Regions from separate parts of the Homo sapiens genome. Here all the other regions are linked to region 1. Evidence: promoter capture Hi-C in human tissues and cell types (Jung and others, 2019). All regions are on one chromosome and are shown on one strand. The core of a region is centred on a gene start or on the middle of the fragment in contact, and the rest is flanking DNA. Distances in the headings are between cores, read along the strand shown.

Region 1 (4,150 bases), core at 983-3,482:
TTAACTTCAAGAATCTTGCTCTAAAGATCTTCAATACACCATGGGTTCTTAATGTCTCTCCTCCATCAAAACACATAAAAAGATGCTTAAAAGTGTTGGATTTGGATTGGTATAATGTATTCTCTAAATTCACACAGTGTCCTTGTAAAGGAGACAAAACGTTTTAAACATCAGTACTGCGGTCACATTCCTGTAACCATGACAAGCAGTAAAAATCTCACACCAAGCAAGTACTCTGTGGGAAGAGGGGAGTTCTCCAGGCTATAAATAGCCCCTCTCTCCAAGGACAAGGGGCACGCAGACACCAAAGGCGCCTGGGCAGTGAATGCCAACATGACACGGCACCATTCTTCCTATTCCAAGGGGTCCCCAGTGAGAGAAACAACAGTCCACCCACCAGGACTTGGTGATTACCATAAGTGGAAGCAAGCAAGTGCAGCCTCCAAGTGCAGACACACCGAATGGCTTTTCAGCTGACACACCGAATGGCAGTTCCGGATTAATTCCCACACTGTCCACTCCACTCGTCCACACCCATCTCTGCACCCTTCAGCAGTGCAGAGCAGGAGGAATCACAGTCAAACAAAACCTCATGGTTGTTTTCCTGACACTCCCGCTTTCACAATGCAAGCAAACACACCCCCGAGCCACTGATACAGTTGCCAGTGAATCACACACTCTGCCTGCAGACGCCCATTCTGTTTGTGGAAACGTATTCACTGCACATTTGCGCTTAGAACTCAATCTGGGCCAAAAGTTCCCAGTACAGTCCCACTGGCCTCCTTGACTAACAAACTTCAAGGCAGCTGCATTGCTAACGTCACAAACCCTAAGCACACTTGGAGGCAGGTAAGAAGAAACACAAATAATCCTGCATCGGAATAAACATTCCATAAGGTCACAAAAAGAAAAGGTGCTCTACTATGCTAAACAGACACTGACAGAGCCTGGGCTAACAAGAGCTGAGAAAAGTATTAGCCCCTCAAGCTGGGCCCAGGTCAACCCTAATTGTAAGGGTCAGGAAACTGAAGTTAAGGTGGCACTATTCCCCACCACTAGTGGTCACCTGGAAACTCCACACACGGAAGCCAGCATGACATTGTGAAACAGGTCCAACCATGACACTCTCCAGCTTAGAACCTGCTGGATTTTCCCGCAGCCCACCAGGCCCTGGAGGCCCAGCCCCACAGGAAGCCACCCTCTATAAACACTGCCGGTTTCTGGAACTCTGAGTCTCCTGTCATGCACTTTCCTCCCCCAGCCCCCGCGCCCTCACTGCTTCTTTCTTGGTCAGCCTCCCGGGGACTCAGCTCCTCTTGGATAGGAGCTCTGGCTGTCGGTCACCACTGTGGCCGCAGGGCCTGGTGCAGACGGGATAAACGATGAAGAATGCCACCTGCGCGTCTGGACAGCGTAGAACCGCAATCAGCTTGCTTCAAAATCAGATGCTACAGCCTGGCTTTGGGGACGCCTTCCTTTCTAAGGCATAAGTGCGAGCGTTCGCTGCTGTGCGTGGAACTGCGGCCGGGAGGGAGTGGCGGCGTGAACGCCGGCGGCTGTAGAGACACACCGGCCGCGGCCCCATCACCCTGCAGGGGCCTGCGGCCGCCATCCCGGCCTGCCCCCGACCAGCTGTGCGACCTCGAACACGTCGTGAGCCGGCTTCCCGGCTCGGGATCGAACCCGAGGAGTGCTGTTTGGGGTCGCAGTGAGGCTAAGGGAGGCCGCAGGTGCCAAGCGTCCCGCCTGCCGGGCGAGGGCCAACCCGAGGCCACGCGCGAGGAGCGGCCGCAGCGACTGGACAAAACAAAGACAAAGACAAAGACGGCTCTTCCCCTGCCCGCGCCCCAGCCGCGACGGCAGCTCCCGCGGCCGCCAAACGGGCGTGACCCTCGAGGAGCCTCCGTCGGGGCGCTGCCTGCGACCGTGGGCCCAGGCCGCCCGCCGAGCCCAGCGCCCTGGCCGAAACCCCGACCCCGACCCCGACCTGGACCCACCAGCCGCCCCGCCCCCTTCGCGGCCCCGCCCGCCCCGGCGCCCTCACCAGCTCCGGGAGGCTCCTGCGCGGCGGCCACCGGGATGAGCAGCAGGAGCAGCGCGGCGCCACCGAGGCGCAACCTCCAGTACGGCGTCGGCCCGCGGGCCACTCCGGGCGCCATGGTCGGCCGGTCGCTCTATCAGTCAGTGGAGCGTTACAACTCCGACTCCAGCACAAGCGGTCTCCGCCCGGAACAGCCGCGGCGCCGGAAGTGGACCTGCGAGGTGGGGCCATGCGAGTGCGCAGCCTCAAAAAGCAGCTCGCCCCGCTCCCTCGCCATCTGCCCCGCCCCTCGCCAACGGGCTCGCCTCCCGGCGCGGCTGAGGTTCAGTGCGCCTGCGCGATAGAGGAAAGGAGCCTGGTAGCGAGGAGAGCGGCTGAGGCTCAGTGCGCCTGCGCGGCGCGGATGGGCGAGGCGTGACCGAGGGGCGAGGCGTGACCGAGGGGCGAGGCGTGACCGAGGGGCGAGGCGTGACCGAGGGGCGAGGCGTGACCGAGGGGCGAGGCGTGACCGAGGGGCTCGCCGCGGCTCCTGCGCCTGCGCGGCGGGGAACGGCGACCGGCTGAGGGGACTAGGGGAGCGCGGTGCTTCGGTGGCGGAGGTCACGGTGGCCTCCATCCTAAAGGGCTGCGGGCGTCCCGGACGGCGGTCCCAAGCGCTGCTCACGCTGCTCTTAAGTGAGCCCTGGACGAGGCGCGGTGGGCCCTCATAGTCCGCGCCGGCGCCCTCGCTCCACACCGCGGCGTCCGGCCCTGGGCTCCCGCCGATGTCCGCGTGGGACTTTTAGGGGATTTGTTTATTTTTGTACGTTAACCACACTAGAAACGGCCCCAGAATGGGCTGAAACGTGTGCTGCTGAAGCTGCCACCTAAACTCCCGAGAGAAGCGCCGTTTCTCCTCCATGGCTTCTCGCCGACGCCCTCGCTGCGGCCTTCCGGGCCCCTCGGTTGATAAAAGGACTAAATAGTGACGGACATTTTTAAGGCTACTTAAGAAATGGCAAAAATACATTTAGAGGTGTGAACCCGAACACACTGCGCGCTTTAAGCCCCGCGAGAGCCGGGGCCGCCCGCTTCTGTGCGCCCGTAGCTCCTTTCTCGGGTCCGGGATTCGCCGGTGCCGGGGACAGAAACCTCCTGCCTTCTTAGTTCATGACCCTTGTAGATGAACTTCCCTGTTTTCTGCACTGCTTAGACCAGAAGACGGGAAACCGTGACTGCCGCACCCTTCCCTGAAGCAGGCACTGCCCGTCGTCCATCAAACGCGAGGACTGCGCCCACCTCGTAGGAAGGACGCCGCGGTCCTGCTAAAAGCCTCCGCCTCTGCCTGCCCGAGGGCACCCTTCCCCTCCCCGCTTCCGAGGGCGGACTCCATTCCTCTGGAGCCGGTGTTTCCGGGTGGGCCAGCCTCCAACTGCCTTTGAATAACCCCCCCTTACATTAGATTCTGACCCTGTGGTGATTTTAGGTTGGGATTTGGGCGCCTGCAGATGGCTCCGAAGCCAGCCTCTTGTGATCCGAGCCACTTCTCTGGCACTCGGAGCGCTGGCACCCGCGGAGCGGCCTTGGTTCACCGGACCGCCTGGGAACCTGGCCGGGGTCTCTGGCAGCCTCCCAGGGCTGAGGTTCAGACTCTGTTCCGCCTACCCAGGTCCACACCTGATAGGGCTGGAGTTGAGGCTTGGTTTTAAGGCAAGAGTTTCGTTTGTTATTTCTCCAAAGAGTCAGCTGTTTGCAGGTGTGTGGTTAACACTATCCTTCGAGGTTAAGGTTTTGTTCGTCTTGCTAAAGTTTGCAACCTTTTTTGTCCTTCAGATTTGGAGAAGGGGAAAGCAGTTTCTCTTTGAAAAGAAGCAGCGAATCGTGGCTTAAGCAAAATTTGTAATCCTTAAAACTGGCCAGGCTCTGGAGCTGAGTTCAATTTGACATGTCTAAACTTTCTTCTTGAGTAACCAGATTTTCCCTTACAGTCTTTTGTCACTTAAGAGAACTCATAGGCAATCGTCCATCCAAAACAAGTCTTTCTCCTTCAGGGAGGACCCATCTTTGGAAACTCCAGCTGGTTTCCTGTGCAGTGCTTATGGTGCCACCTCTCGTTATATTTAGAAAAAT
Region 2 (3,881 bases), core at 468-2,967, 250 kb before region 1:
TGAGCCCAGGAGTTCAAGACCAGCTGGGCAACATAGCAAGACTCTGGTCTCTACAAAAAAAATTTTTTTTTACAAAAAGAAATATTGATAATGGGACTTGAATTATCTATGATTGAAGCGTATCATAAAGCTATGGCCTGAAAGAGCAGAACCAAATCCATAGCCCAAAATGGACCAGTTCAAAACTTTTCTATCCTGTCTGAAACCCAGTCCTATCCCCAGCGTTCCCACATGCAAGTCTGAGTGGACCTCGGGGAAGGCCGCGGGGAGCGGCATGGCCTCTCTTTCCTTGCTCCCCTTCTCCCTGTTTTGGGCTCTAATTTCTTCAGTGATGGGGACGGGGGAAGGAATGTGCAGGGCCACCACTGTGGGGCTCACTGGCCACTGCTGCACCTTCTCTCCGGCTGCTCCAGTGATCCTGTGCTTCTACCAGCTGCTTCTGCCTCTTCAGTGAGGACCCACTTTAGAGACACCCCCAGGGACAGTAGCTGGAGGACTCTCTCCCTGGGACACCACACTTTGCGTAAGACTGAAGGGCCACCCCTGCCTCCACAGCCTCCTTCTTACAACCTGGGCAGCACTGGTGGGGTGTGGCAGCTGGCCATAGCTGGTCAACTTCTGTCTTATTTTAGAAACCCTGTGGGGACAGGTCTGACCCAGAATGTTAGCATTATTTTTAGAATGAGAGGCCGTTTCCAGCTTTGCCAGATTCACAGCAACAAAGACGTTCTACTCAACATCGTGTAATACGTCTTACTTTATAATGAAATATGCGTATGTGTACTTGAATTTTTAAATAAAAATGTGAAATCACAATCAATATTATAATTAGCTGCTGGGTAGCAATGTTCCTGGAAAGTGATCAGGGCCATTTTATAAGGCAAGAAGCTCGGGACTTCATCATGCCCTGTGGTGATAACAATTCATCATCAAAGATCATGCAGCCGTGAGAGTTGCCTGTGGCTGACCTGGGGGTGTGTGATGGGGCCTGTGGGCAGGGCTGGTGAGAAAAAGATGCTTGCAGTGCAGGGCACACGGAGGAGATGGCTCCAGCAGTGGCGAGGGCTGGCGGCTGCCTGCTGCCTAGCACAGCTACTTCACGGGTTCAGAACCCGAAACCACAGCCCACGATGCTGCCATTGTGCCTCAGCAAGGAGTGGGCTGAGCCCACGATCCCTGCCCTGGAACAGAGTCCTGCTGCCTCCCAAGCAAAGGACAGGGTGGGCAATGAACAGAGGGCAGGAGGCACAGAGGCCATGGGGATTAGAAATTGGCGAGTCCTGTGTCCTACAGCAGGGGAAGGACCATACTAGAGGAGGAGTTTGCACCACAGGAAATAATTCCTAAGGGCCGGCTTCCTGCAGAGGAAGCCCGTGTCCTGAGGCTGCTGGGGCCAGTGGCTGGACGATGCCCCAGCAACCAAAGATGGCCCCAGGCACATCCCACCCACATCCCACCCACCAGACGCCCACAGCCGTCCTTGCCTCCAGAACCCAGCTGGGATCAGGCCCACCCCAACTCCTGCCCCTGAGGTTCCACATGCAACAGACTATAGCCCAGGTGTGACAGGAGATTTGTGAGCTGGGCAATGTCACCAGCAAACAAACATCCCTAATCATGGCAGACGCCGCCTCTCAGCAACAAGGAAGGGGAAGCTGTGGGCCCTGGAACAACAAGGCCAGGAGGGGTATAAAAGCCTGAGAGCCCCAAGAACCTCACACACTCACAAACTCACTCACTGACACACTCACACACTCACTTACACCTCCCCCAGCTCACCTCCTCCCCACCCCAGCATGGCCGCGTCCACCATGTCCATCCGCTCCAGCGCTTACTCCGACTCCTGGCAGGTGGACGACTGCCCAGAGAGCTGCTGTGAGCCCCCCTGCTGCGCCACCAGCTGCTGCGCCCCGGCCCCCTGCCTGACCCTGGTCTGCACCCCAGTGAGCCGTGTATCCAGCCCCTGCTGCCAGGTGACCTGTGAGCCCAGCCCCTGCCAATCAGGCTGCACCAGCTCCTGCACGCCCTCGTGCTGCCAGCAGTCTAGCTGCCAGCCGGCTTACTGCACCTCCTCCCCCTGCCAGCAGGCCTGCTGCGTGCCCGTCTGCTGCAAGCCTGTGTGCTGCGTGCCCGTCTGCTGTGGGGCTTCTTCGTGCTGCCAACAGTCTAGCTACCAGCCAGCTTGCTGTGCCTCTTCCTCCTGCCAGCCGGCCTGCTGTGTGCCCGTCTGCTGCAAACCTGTGTGCTGTGCGCCCACCTGCTCTGAGGATTCCTATTCATGCTGCCAACAGTCTAGCTGCCAGCCAGCTTGCTGCACTTCCTCCCCCTGCCAGCAGTCCTACTGTGTGCCTGTCTGCTGTAAGCCTGTCTGCTGCAAACCCATCTGCTGTGTGCCTGTCTGCTCTGGGGCTTCCTCTTTGTGCTGCCAGCAGTCTGGCTGCCAGCCGGCTTGCTGCACCACCTCCTGCTGCAGACCCTCCTCCTCTGTGTCCCTCCTCTGCCGCCCTGTGTGCAGGCCCGCCTGCTGCGTGCCCGTCTCCTCCTGCTGTGCCCCCACCTCCTCCCGCCAGCCCAGCTATTGCCGCCAGGCCTCCTGTGTGTCCCTTCTCTGCCGCCCTGTGTGCTCCCGCCCGGCCTGCTACAGCTTCTCCTCAGGCCAGAAGTCCAGCTGCTGACGGTCATGTCCCCCAGGGCCAGCCGGGCTCAGGCCCCACCTCCCTGCCAGTCCTTGGACCTCCCAGCCCACCCAGCCTCAGCACAGCTCAACACAGAAGGAGCAGCCCCAGCCACAGCCGCCCAGCCCCGGGGTCTCAGATGCTCACTGGCTCCTCCCTGACCTCCCCCCCGGGCAGGCGAGCCCTGGCTTCTCCTCACGGTGCTTCCTGGCTGCAGACCACAACCCTCCGCTGGTCGCTGGTTGGGGACGGGCCCTCCTGACCCGGGTCTCACCCCCAGCAGCGTCACCCTCTGCCCCTGAGCACCAATAAAGCGTCTGCGGCCCCAGCTGACTCCGTGCTGACTCTCCGCACCCAGGGCGGGAGGGGGCAGAGTGGGGCCTGGCCTGGCTCTGGGGGGCTGGGCCCCGTGGATCTCTTTACTTCCCCAGCTGGGGGGCCTCGGGGGGCTCTTGTGTGACACCTGGAAGCTCCTGTCCACCTCGTGGCACGTTCTGCTGTCCGGCTCCCCTCCCAGGTCCTGTGGGGCCCAAAAGCCTTGTTCACTGGCTGAGTCCCACAGACACCACGTGACTCAGGCTAATGCCCCACTCACTGTGGGTAGAAGCAGCTCCTTCCCATGGCAAGGGTTGGGGCTGTCCCGGGGGGTGGCAGGCCCCAGCTGTGCTGGGAGGTGGGAGACGGGCGGTGGGGGGTGGGTGTGGAGACTTGGGCTCCAGCTGTCCCAGCACTCAGGAGTTCCACTCGGAGAGAGCTTGGCCATCCTGGCCTCCTGTGGACACTCACAGACGCTCAGGGATGGCCCCTGCTCCAGCCCTGGGCTTGCCGCTGGGATGCAGAGCAGAGAACAGACACGTGGTCTCCAGAGCTCCCTGTGCTGGGCTGGGTGGGTGGAGGGCCGGTGGGAACAGGAAGGTCTCAGGGCGGCGATGACAGAGGAGTCCCAGGACAGTGTGGGAATGTGTCCAGACCAGACAGCAGGAAGGAGGCCTCCTGGGGGTAGTTTCTTAGCTCCTGCCATGGGAGACAGGCAGATGGCCAGAGCCACACTGTCCCCTCCAGTCCTCACCCACACCCCCCACACTGGTGACCCGGGGCTGCGATGCCGCCCACTCTTCTCGCCTTAGGAGAGCATAGTCGGGTTTGGGGGCCTCGGCCATACCCTGTGGGCACAAAGGACCCCCACACCTGAGAGGAGCTGCATGT
Region 3 (4,250 bases), core at 1,733-4,232, 230 kb after region 1:
TAGCCACCTCGCTTTCCCTCACCGTCACACCCAGTCCCCTCAAACATTTGTGCCTGCTGTCCCTGCGTTCGCTTCCCACCCGGGTGCTTGCCTTTCCACGTCTCCCTGCTGTCCAGCAGCTGGCAAGTCATTCCTGCCCTGTGCTTGCAGGCTCCACGGACCCACCAGGGCATCTGGAATACAACTGTGACTTCCTCCTCACCCCACGGCTGTGCTTGACCCGGCTCCCATCTGTCTCCAGATCCCTTGGAGCACTCTCCCAGGTCTGCTGCAGGCCCATGGCCTCCTCCCTTGGACCACTCTCCCCGTCTCTGTCTAGGGGCTGCTCACAGCTTCCTAGAAGTTTCTTGCCTGGGCTTTGCTTATTCCCAGCTGGTGGCTTTCCATCTGTGCTCTTCCTCTGCTGACGGCCCCTTCTGCCCCAGCTCATTATATGACCGTTGTCTCCCATCCCGTCCTGACCTGCCTGTTTATGGAGGCATCCTCTAGGTTCTCAGTGGAGGGTGCCTGGCCCCTGGAACAAAACTGTTGAGTTTGAATCATCCCCACCCTGCCTCTTCCTAGCTGCAGTGCTGGGCCTCAGTTTCCCTATGTGCAAAATGGGGACACTCAAACCTGCCTCATTCCCGTGAGGATTACATGATTAGGTAAAGTGTTCGTGGCAGTGTGGGGGATGGCGAGTGCTAGGCAGGAGCTGGAGGCTGTTCTCTTTGGGCTATTTGCACACATATGCTCTTAGCCTCCTTTCGAGCACTTTCCTCAGCCTTCAATCTTGTGTATATTTGTGTGTGTTTCTCTTTTAGGAGAGAGACTTCTCTGGCATTGACTGGACAACTGTCAGAGCTTATCCTTGACCTGAGCTCACTGCCTCTGCCTCAGAATTGGGGGTCAGGTTATTCTTAGTATTCTAGGTTTATAAGGCCAGACAGAGTCCTTCTTCCCTGTAGAGCAGAAATGACCCCTAATATAGGAGCATATTGTTTTCCCTCAGCAGAGCAAATGCTTCAGTAGTAGTGTTACCAGCAGACAGATGGCGCTTTAGAGGTGACATGTGATAGATGCTTGGGACTGAAATTTAGCCGTGGATCATAGCCTGAATGGGATTTTCACGCATGTCTTCCCTCTCAGGATTTCTCTTAAGGGTTGTTGATTCCACATTTCTCCTTGAGGAGGGGGTGGTGGTAGGGCTGGTGACCGGGGAACTGTAATTTCCTGTGGGAGAGCAGCAATTTCATTATTCCTTTAATGAAGCTATAGTTGATCATCCTTCAGTGCCTAGTATACAGCCTGTTAAATTAGGGTCTTCGGATTGCTCTGCAAGCCTTTTTAAAAAAATAATTTACAGGCTGGGCGCGGTGGGTGGCTCACGCCTGTAATCCCAGCGCTTTGGGAGGCCGAGGCGGGTGGATCACTTGAGGTCAGGAGTTTGAGACCAGCCTGGCCAACATGGTGAAACCCTATCTCTACTAAAAGTACAAAAAAAATTAGCTGGGTGTGGTGGCGCACACCTGTGATCCCAGCGAGCAGGAGGCTGATACATGAGAATCACTTGAACCTTGGGAGGGGACCACTCCAGCCTGGGTGACAGAGCGAGACTCTGTCTCAAAAAAATAAAAAATAAAAATTTACAATTTATGTTAAAATATGTCATTTTAAGTTATGTAAATCCAAGCATAATTACTGAACACAAGGCTCAATCCAAAACATGCACAGTAAGCCCGTGTGAAGTGTTCACATGCTGTTCTGAGGCTGGCTGGATCTGGAGTTTCTGGGAGTGCTCTCTTGGGCTGGCACGTCTTGGGCTGTGGGGGCCCTGAAGCCCTCCTAGATGCTGGACATTGGTGTGTGTGCAACTTGGTGGTGGTGTTGGGGTTACTTTCCAGAAGCTACTCAAGGCTTAGTCTCAGTTTCTATCTAAAGATATTTATATGGGAAGTATTCCAAATGTGGATTTATAAAGATAACACATGGATAGAAATAGTGTAAAACTTGTGTGAACTGAACCAGCCAAGCTTCTAGTCTTCCCTTTCCAAAACTTTCCTTTTTCTCCCCCCGTGTTAAAGATTTAAAAATATATGTTTAAAAAGGTCACTTTTAACTTGTAAAAATTATTCAACATATACAGAAATTTAAAAAGCAGCATTGCAGGTTATGTGAGATTATGTATGTCTGCTCTTTGGAACTAGGTTGAAATGATAGCTACAAGGTTCTTTGGAAGAATGGGGATGTGTGGGTGAGAGTGGAGTAGACAGGCTGGGCTTACTAACTAGGCTTGCACTGGCCCCCGTCAGTCACTGTTCCCAAGTCAAATACTGCATTGCACTGAACACCAGAGCAGCAGTGCATTTCCTAGAGAACTCTGCAAGGCTACAGGTGGCAGACTTAGGGAGCGCTTGCCATCCCTGCCCTTCCCAGCTCTACCCAGAACAAGGAGGCCTCGCACACTACCTGGTCATATTTTGACTTCATGCATTTAATGAACCAAACTAAAGGTAAATATTTTCTTTTGATTCCCAAGGCAGACTTGTGGGTACCCAAGTTCCTCAGCCCATCTTTAACTCAGTAGGATGTGGCATCTCCATTGAGGCTCTTCATGGAATCCCTGGAGGTGAAACCTCGGTGTCCGGTTGCTCCAAACCAGTGCTGGTGGGATTCAGTTTTCTGGACCCATTTCTGGGTGAAGTCAAGGAATGGAGGCGGGCGGCTGTCAAGCGTCTCTGTTGCTCAATGGGGCAGGCCAGTCCCAGCGGCGACTTAGAGGTGGCTGGCTGGGCGTCCCTACAGGAGAATGGGCCACAGGGCCAGCGGGGCCAGCAGGATGAGCAGGCCTGGTTTGGGGTATGGGCCGCAGGCGTGGAGCTCGATGCTGGGCAGGGGCCTGCTCACTGACGAGTTGCCACCCGGGATTGGGGTAGGGGTGGGCGCGGTGGTCTCGGGCTCTGAGCGGCTCTGCACCGGCAGGAGCAGGACTGGCAGCAGCAGCAGCAGCGCCAGTGCGGATCGGGCCGCCATGGCCAAGCGCTCCGGCTCGTCCCGTAGCAGTGCCGCGGCGGCGGCCGCTGCCGGGAGTGTCTGTTCCGCGGTTACGCGGGGTCCTCTCCGGTCCTGTCCAGTGAGGTCCTGACAGCTGTACCCTGGCCCAACCCCTGCCCACGGCTGTTAACGATCAGCCTCGGGGAGCAGGTGTGCCGCCACGCGCGCCGTAGCGCTCCGGAGCTGGCTCTGCGCTCACGTGCTCGCTGTGCCCTGCGCGCGGGCGGGCCGTGTCCCCGCAGCCCCGCGCCTGGCGCTGCCAAGCTGCCCAGCGGGCTTTAGCAGGTGCTGAAATGCCCGCTGCCAGTCGCCGAGTGCTGGGTGCAGAGGATCTCTCCAGACACCTAGGCTCCCTTCTTTCGCGGCACGTGGGAAAAACTCCTGAAGTGCGTGCACAGAGTTTTTGTTTTAGAGGCTTTGACGTTATGATTAAGTATACCTGTGATGTAACGAAAACCTTTTTTAATGCTTCTCAAAAGATTTGCTAGCGTTTAACATTTACCTCCTGTACTGGAGTTTAAAGGAAGCGTTGCTTCTTAAGTAATCAGTGATCCTTTTGCTTTTGGAAATTGTAATGAACTTCACCATCGTAGAGCTTTAATATTTCTTTCCTGAAGCAGAAAGCATGTGAAATTTTCTGGATAGTGTATACTTAATACACAAGCTTTTGGAGTTTTTGAATGCTGGGTATGTTAGCACACCAGTCTTGCTGACTATTACGTGGGAGATGAGTGCTGCTTAAAATTGTGTAAGGGGTCAGTAGTTACAGTGGTGGACATACTTTTGCCAGACATGGTTTATTTTAAAGTGAACATATTTTGTGCTTATTTATTTATTTGGGACAGGGTCTCACTCTGTTACTCAGGCTGGAGTGCAGTGGTAATCATGGTTCACTGCAGCCTCAACTTCCAGGCTCAAGTGATCCTCCCACCTCAGCCTCCTGAGTAGCTGGGACTGTGGGGCTACAGGCGCACTACCACACCCAGCTAACTTTTTTTATTTTTTGTAGAGACGGAGTCTTGCTGTGTTGCCCAGGCTAGACTTGAACTCCTGGCGTCAAGCGATCCTCCCTCTTCGGCCTCCCAAGTTGCTGGGATTACAGATGTGAGCCACCATGCCTGGCCAATGTGCTTATTTTAATTCTAAATCAGAATTTCTATAATTATCTTCCTTACCTTGGTGTCTGTCTGTTATCAGCACAAGGGTTTAAAATAATT
Region 4 (3,825 bases), core at 139-2,638, 240 kb after region 1:
CTCTCTGGCTTGTCCTTGTGAAGTTGGTTTGCTTTTTGTGCCAGCTTTTTAGGCTTACAAAATGTTGTGTGTGTGTACATAGGAAAAATATGGAAGGGTACGTACCCACTAGTTTGTGTCAGCACTGGATTCTGGCATATATAATAGATGAGGAGTTTCTGTTATGTATATGGGATTTCTGAGATACACAGGGGTTTTCTGTGCACATCTCTCTATAACGCAGCTGTCCCGTCACATCCTGCATGTCAGTACAGGTAGTGCCGTTCTCTTCGTAGGACTGTGACACTTTATCTTTGTTCTTTCACAGTTAAAAAAAAAAAAGCTTCTTTAAAATTCTGACTTTATATAACTAACGCAATGCTCATGCTACTTCACTTGTTACAAGAACATATTATTCTGTCCTATAGATGTACTGCAGTTATTTAATGGATCAGCTATTGATAAGGGGGCCCTTTTAATGTAACTATTTTAAAAAATGGAAGTAATACCAGCACATGGTAAAAAACACATTGCAGCTCATGAATGGGTATAAATTAAGTTGGAGATTTCCTCTTTCTCCCTCCCCACCCCATGCCCCGTTTCCAGAGGTAAACAATGTACAGTTTGTGTTTTCTTCTCTTAAGTTCTTCTTGTAGTCACCATTATAGCTTTAACTTTTCTGTTTGTGAGTTCATGTGGAAGTCAACAGTGCCTTCACACTCTGAGTTTTGATGAGATTTATATTGACAAGGCTTAAAACATTTGTAGTGTTTCCCATCTATCATTAGGCTCCCTGTGCTTTTCCTGCAAGTGTAGTCTAAACATTTTAATATAAGAAAAGTAACATTTATAGTATTATGATAGTATATTTTGCCATAGAACCAAGTGGTATGAAATGTAATTCTGCCTCACCAAACCTTTGCCAATAAAAGGAGAATATTCAGATGGAACTCCCAGTTTCTCTTTAGGTGTCCGCTGTTTCTAGCTGCCTCAGTTGCCATGGTTTCTCCTATCCCATGGTGTTGGTTTCTTGGATTCTATTTTTGTTTTGCTGGAGCACCTCCTTAATCCACTTCCTTATAGAATGGATGGCTGACAGACTTCTTAATTCACTTCCTTATAGAATGGATGGCTGACAGACTTCTTAATTCACTTCCTTATAGAATGGATGGCTGACAGACTTCTTGGGTTTTTGCACGTAATGTTCAAACATGCAATTACTTTGTTCTCATACTTATTGATAATTTGGTAGGGTCTAGAATTCTAGGATCGTATAATTTTCCTTTTGAAATCAGAAAATATTCTCTATTATTTTCCAGAGTCTAGTGTTGGTAATGAGAAGTTGGATATCCGTTTGATCCTTGTTCTACTGCAGGTAAACATCTTCTACTCTCTCCTTCTCTCCCTCCCTGGGCTTCATGTCCTGACGGTTTGATTTTTCGTTACCCTAAACCCGGATCTGCTTCTCTTCCAGCCCGCGTGCCCATATTGGGATCACCCCTTAGAAAACCTCAGGCTTTCTTTGGAGAGCGATTCTCAGGTTTCAGCCCAGGAATAAAAGCGTTCCCTATGGCTCCTGCTTCTTGGGAAGACCCCTCACCTCTGTTGTCTTGCTCTGCAGTTTCCTCTGCTCTCTCGCATCAACCTGCTTTCGTCTGCCTTATGCCCTAAAAGCCCTGGCAGGCTTTCTTGTGTTCTGCTAAATCCCTCTGTAAATTTTTAGCACCGTGCACTATTATGGTTCATTCACCACCAAAAAGTACCTTTTCTGACATTTTAACAGAGCTCTGGGAAGAATGGAGAGAAGATATGGTGTACTTTATCACCATTTTTAATTAAAAGCCCTTTTAATTAATTAATTTAGAGGCAGGGTCTCGCTCTGTCACCCAGGGTGAAGTGCAGTAGTGTGATCGTGGCTCACTGCAGCCTCCACCTTCTGGGCTCAAGCAATACTCCTGTTATCAGCCTCTTGAGTAGCTTGGACCACAGTCACGTGCCACATTGACTGATTAATTTTTAAATTTTTTGTAGAGGTGGGGTCTTGCCGTGTTGCCCAGACTGGTCTCGAACTCCTAGGCTCAAGCCATCCTCCCACCTTGGCCTCCCAAAGTGCTGAGCACACCACTGTGCCTAGCCTAAAAGCCTTTTTAGATCACTCTCAGTGGCAAAATTAGTGCCTTGGTCACCTTTACCAGTAGCTGTTCTTGCTCTCCAGTGGAAATATCACTCAACATTATCAAAGAATCGGGATGAAATTAAATGAACCAGTTTAGGTACTTTTGATACAGAAGTTCTTATGAGACGTGTTGTTCTTTACTATGTAAGAGTGTGGCCATAAACTTAAAAATAGCTGGGTAACTTTGTTACACTTGCCTTGATGGTGTGTTGCAAGTTAGTTAAATTTCATATACTCTTAATCAGCACATCACCAACAAATAAAATGTTACTGCTGCATCAGAATTTAGAGGAGGTTCTATACATCTGTTTCGAAATAAAGACGGAGATGACTTAGGGTACTTATAAGTTGTTGAAAAATCATGGCTCCTGAAACTATGAATTGTCATCGTGGTATATACCCAGACAGCCCACATTAAACTGCTGTGAACATGAGAAAATGGACATCGAAATGATAAAAGCAAGAGTGTTGGTAATTGAAATCCATTATAAATAAAGCTGTCATTGGTAACGCACGAAATGCTGTTTCTGAGGATGAGGACTTTGTGGCCCCCACGTGGGCGCATTACCAAGCTTTGCAGCTCTGCACAGGAGCCTCCCTTCTTGATACTGAACTAGACCTCTATAAAGCCTAGTAACACCTCAGGTTTAGGTTATAAATCTTAAATTTTAGTGCCCCGTAATAATTCACTTCGTAGGTTACCATGGACTAGCCCTTAGTTGCACTGAGAAAAGAAAGGCTATGAAATTTTGTTGGTGAAGTGCCAAAGAAAGGATTGGGTTTTGGGTCATCTCACAGCCCATGGTGAGGGCTGTCTTTGGCCTCTACCGCACGGACAAGTTTGCATGTCAGATGTTGGCACACTTGTGGGGTATTGGGTTCTTTTGAATATCTGATTAAATCCATTTACATTTTCGTTAGAAAAATTCATCTGTGCATATGAACGCATCATTTCATATATGATTTCACACTTCTCATTGTCTTCCTGAAGCCCATTCGTGAACTGTCGATTGAATGCCTGCTCTGGAGAGGAGTGTGAAGCTGCACTTCTTCCGTCTCCTCCTGGCACTCGCTCAGGATCCTCACAGGTGTGGAAAACACTCTAAGGAAGCCTGCGAAGGCCAGATGTCTCCCTTTTGCCTTCTTTGGTTCTGTTCATGATGGCCTTATCACGGACACACTAGGACCCTCTGAGGACACCACCCCTGCCACCGCATTGCTCTGGGGGCAACTTCCGAGCTTATTGTCTTCCTCCAGCAAGGGCAGGAATGTGGAGAAGCTGTGTGTGCTGGGCCTTTACTTTCATTATTGGCGACAATGTTTGTTTTCATTTTATCAGCTTTCTTTATCCTCCATTTTTTTATCTTCCACAGGTAGTGTATATTTTGAGAACAGCGTGAGGTTTATTCTACTAATGGAAATTTACAAAAATACCAGTTTGAATGATTGAGAAATCTAAGTTAAAGAACCCTTGAATAGAAATGTCGCTGTTCAGTGCGTTGATCGATTCTCACATCTGAAGCCAGCTGTGTATTCTTGGTATGTGTGTATTCAACTCAGGTGTGACCTACTGTCTTTTATATGTCCCTGGATTTAAATATGCTAATTTTGTTATGATTTTTGTGTCTACATTTGTAAAAGCCGCTGATAGTTCATGTCTGGCACATTCT

The links. The method cuts DNA at HindIII sites, captures the fragments that hold promoters and counts their contacts. A contact is called where the count stands out against the background at its distance.
Region 2: a contact is called between the fragment with the promoter of KRTAP10-9 here and the fragment with the promoter of PTTG1IP in region 1, in 2 of the 25 tissues and cell types used here (liver and mesendoderm cells).
Region 3: a fragment that was not itself captured here is called in contact with the fragment with the promoter of PTTG1IP in region 1 in 6 of the 25 tissues and cell types used here (IMR-90 fibroblasts, aorta, bladder and 3 more).
Region 4: a contact is called between a fragment that was not itself captured here and the fragment with the promoter of PTTG1IP in region 1, in 3 of the 25 tissues and cell types used here (H1 embryonic stem cells, bladder and dorsolateral prefrontal cortex).

The regions. Positions count from the first base shown.
Region 1 is chr21:44,871,458-44,875,607 of GRCh38, forward strand. It overlaps PTTG1IP (PTTG1 interacting protein), which reads right to left and starts at 2,233. Exons shown (of 6, transcript NM_004339.4): 1 at 2,045-2,233. The coding sequence starts at 2,159. RefSeq lists enhancers at 1,354-1,854, 1,855-2,355, 2,513-3,190 and a silencer at 1,947-2,596. The HindIII fragment of the contact is 14,261 bases long and covers 1-4,150 here.
Region 2 is chr21:44,625,376-44,629,256 of GRCh38, forward strand. It overlaps KRTAP10-9 (keratin associated protein 10-9), which reads left to right and starts at 1,718. Exons shown (of 1, transcript NM_198690.3): 1 at 1,718-3,003. The coding sequence starts at 1,797. The coding sequence ends at 2,675. All of the region lies in intron 1 of TSPEAR (thrombospondin type laminin G domain and EAR repeats), which reads right to left. RefSeq lists an enhancer at 643-1,338. The HindIII fragment of the contact is 22,066 bases long and covers 1-3,881 here.
Region 3 is chr21:45,098,035-45,102,284 of GRCh38, forward strand. All of the region lies in intron 1 of ADARB1 (adenosine deaminase RNA specific B1), which reads left to right. Among named protein-coding and RNA genes, the nearest start is that of ADARB1, 26 kb to the left of the region's middle. The HindIII fragment of the contact is 4,715 bases long and covers 626-4,250 here.
Region 4 is chr21:45,117,266-45,121,090 of GRCh38, forward strand. All of the region lies in intron 1 of ADARB1 (adenosine deaminase RNA specific B1), which reads left to right. Among named protein-coding and RNA genes, the nearest start is that of ADARB1, 45 kb to the left of the region's middle. The HindIII fragment of the contact is 3,865 bases long and covers 1-3,321 here.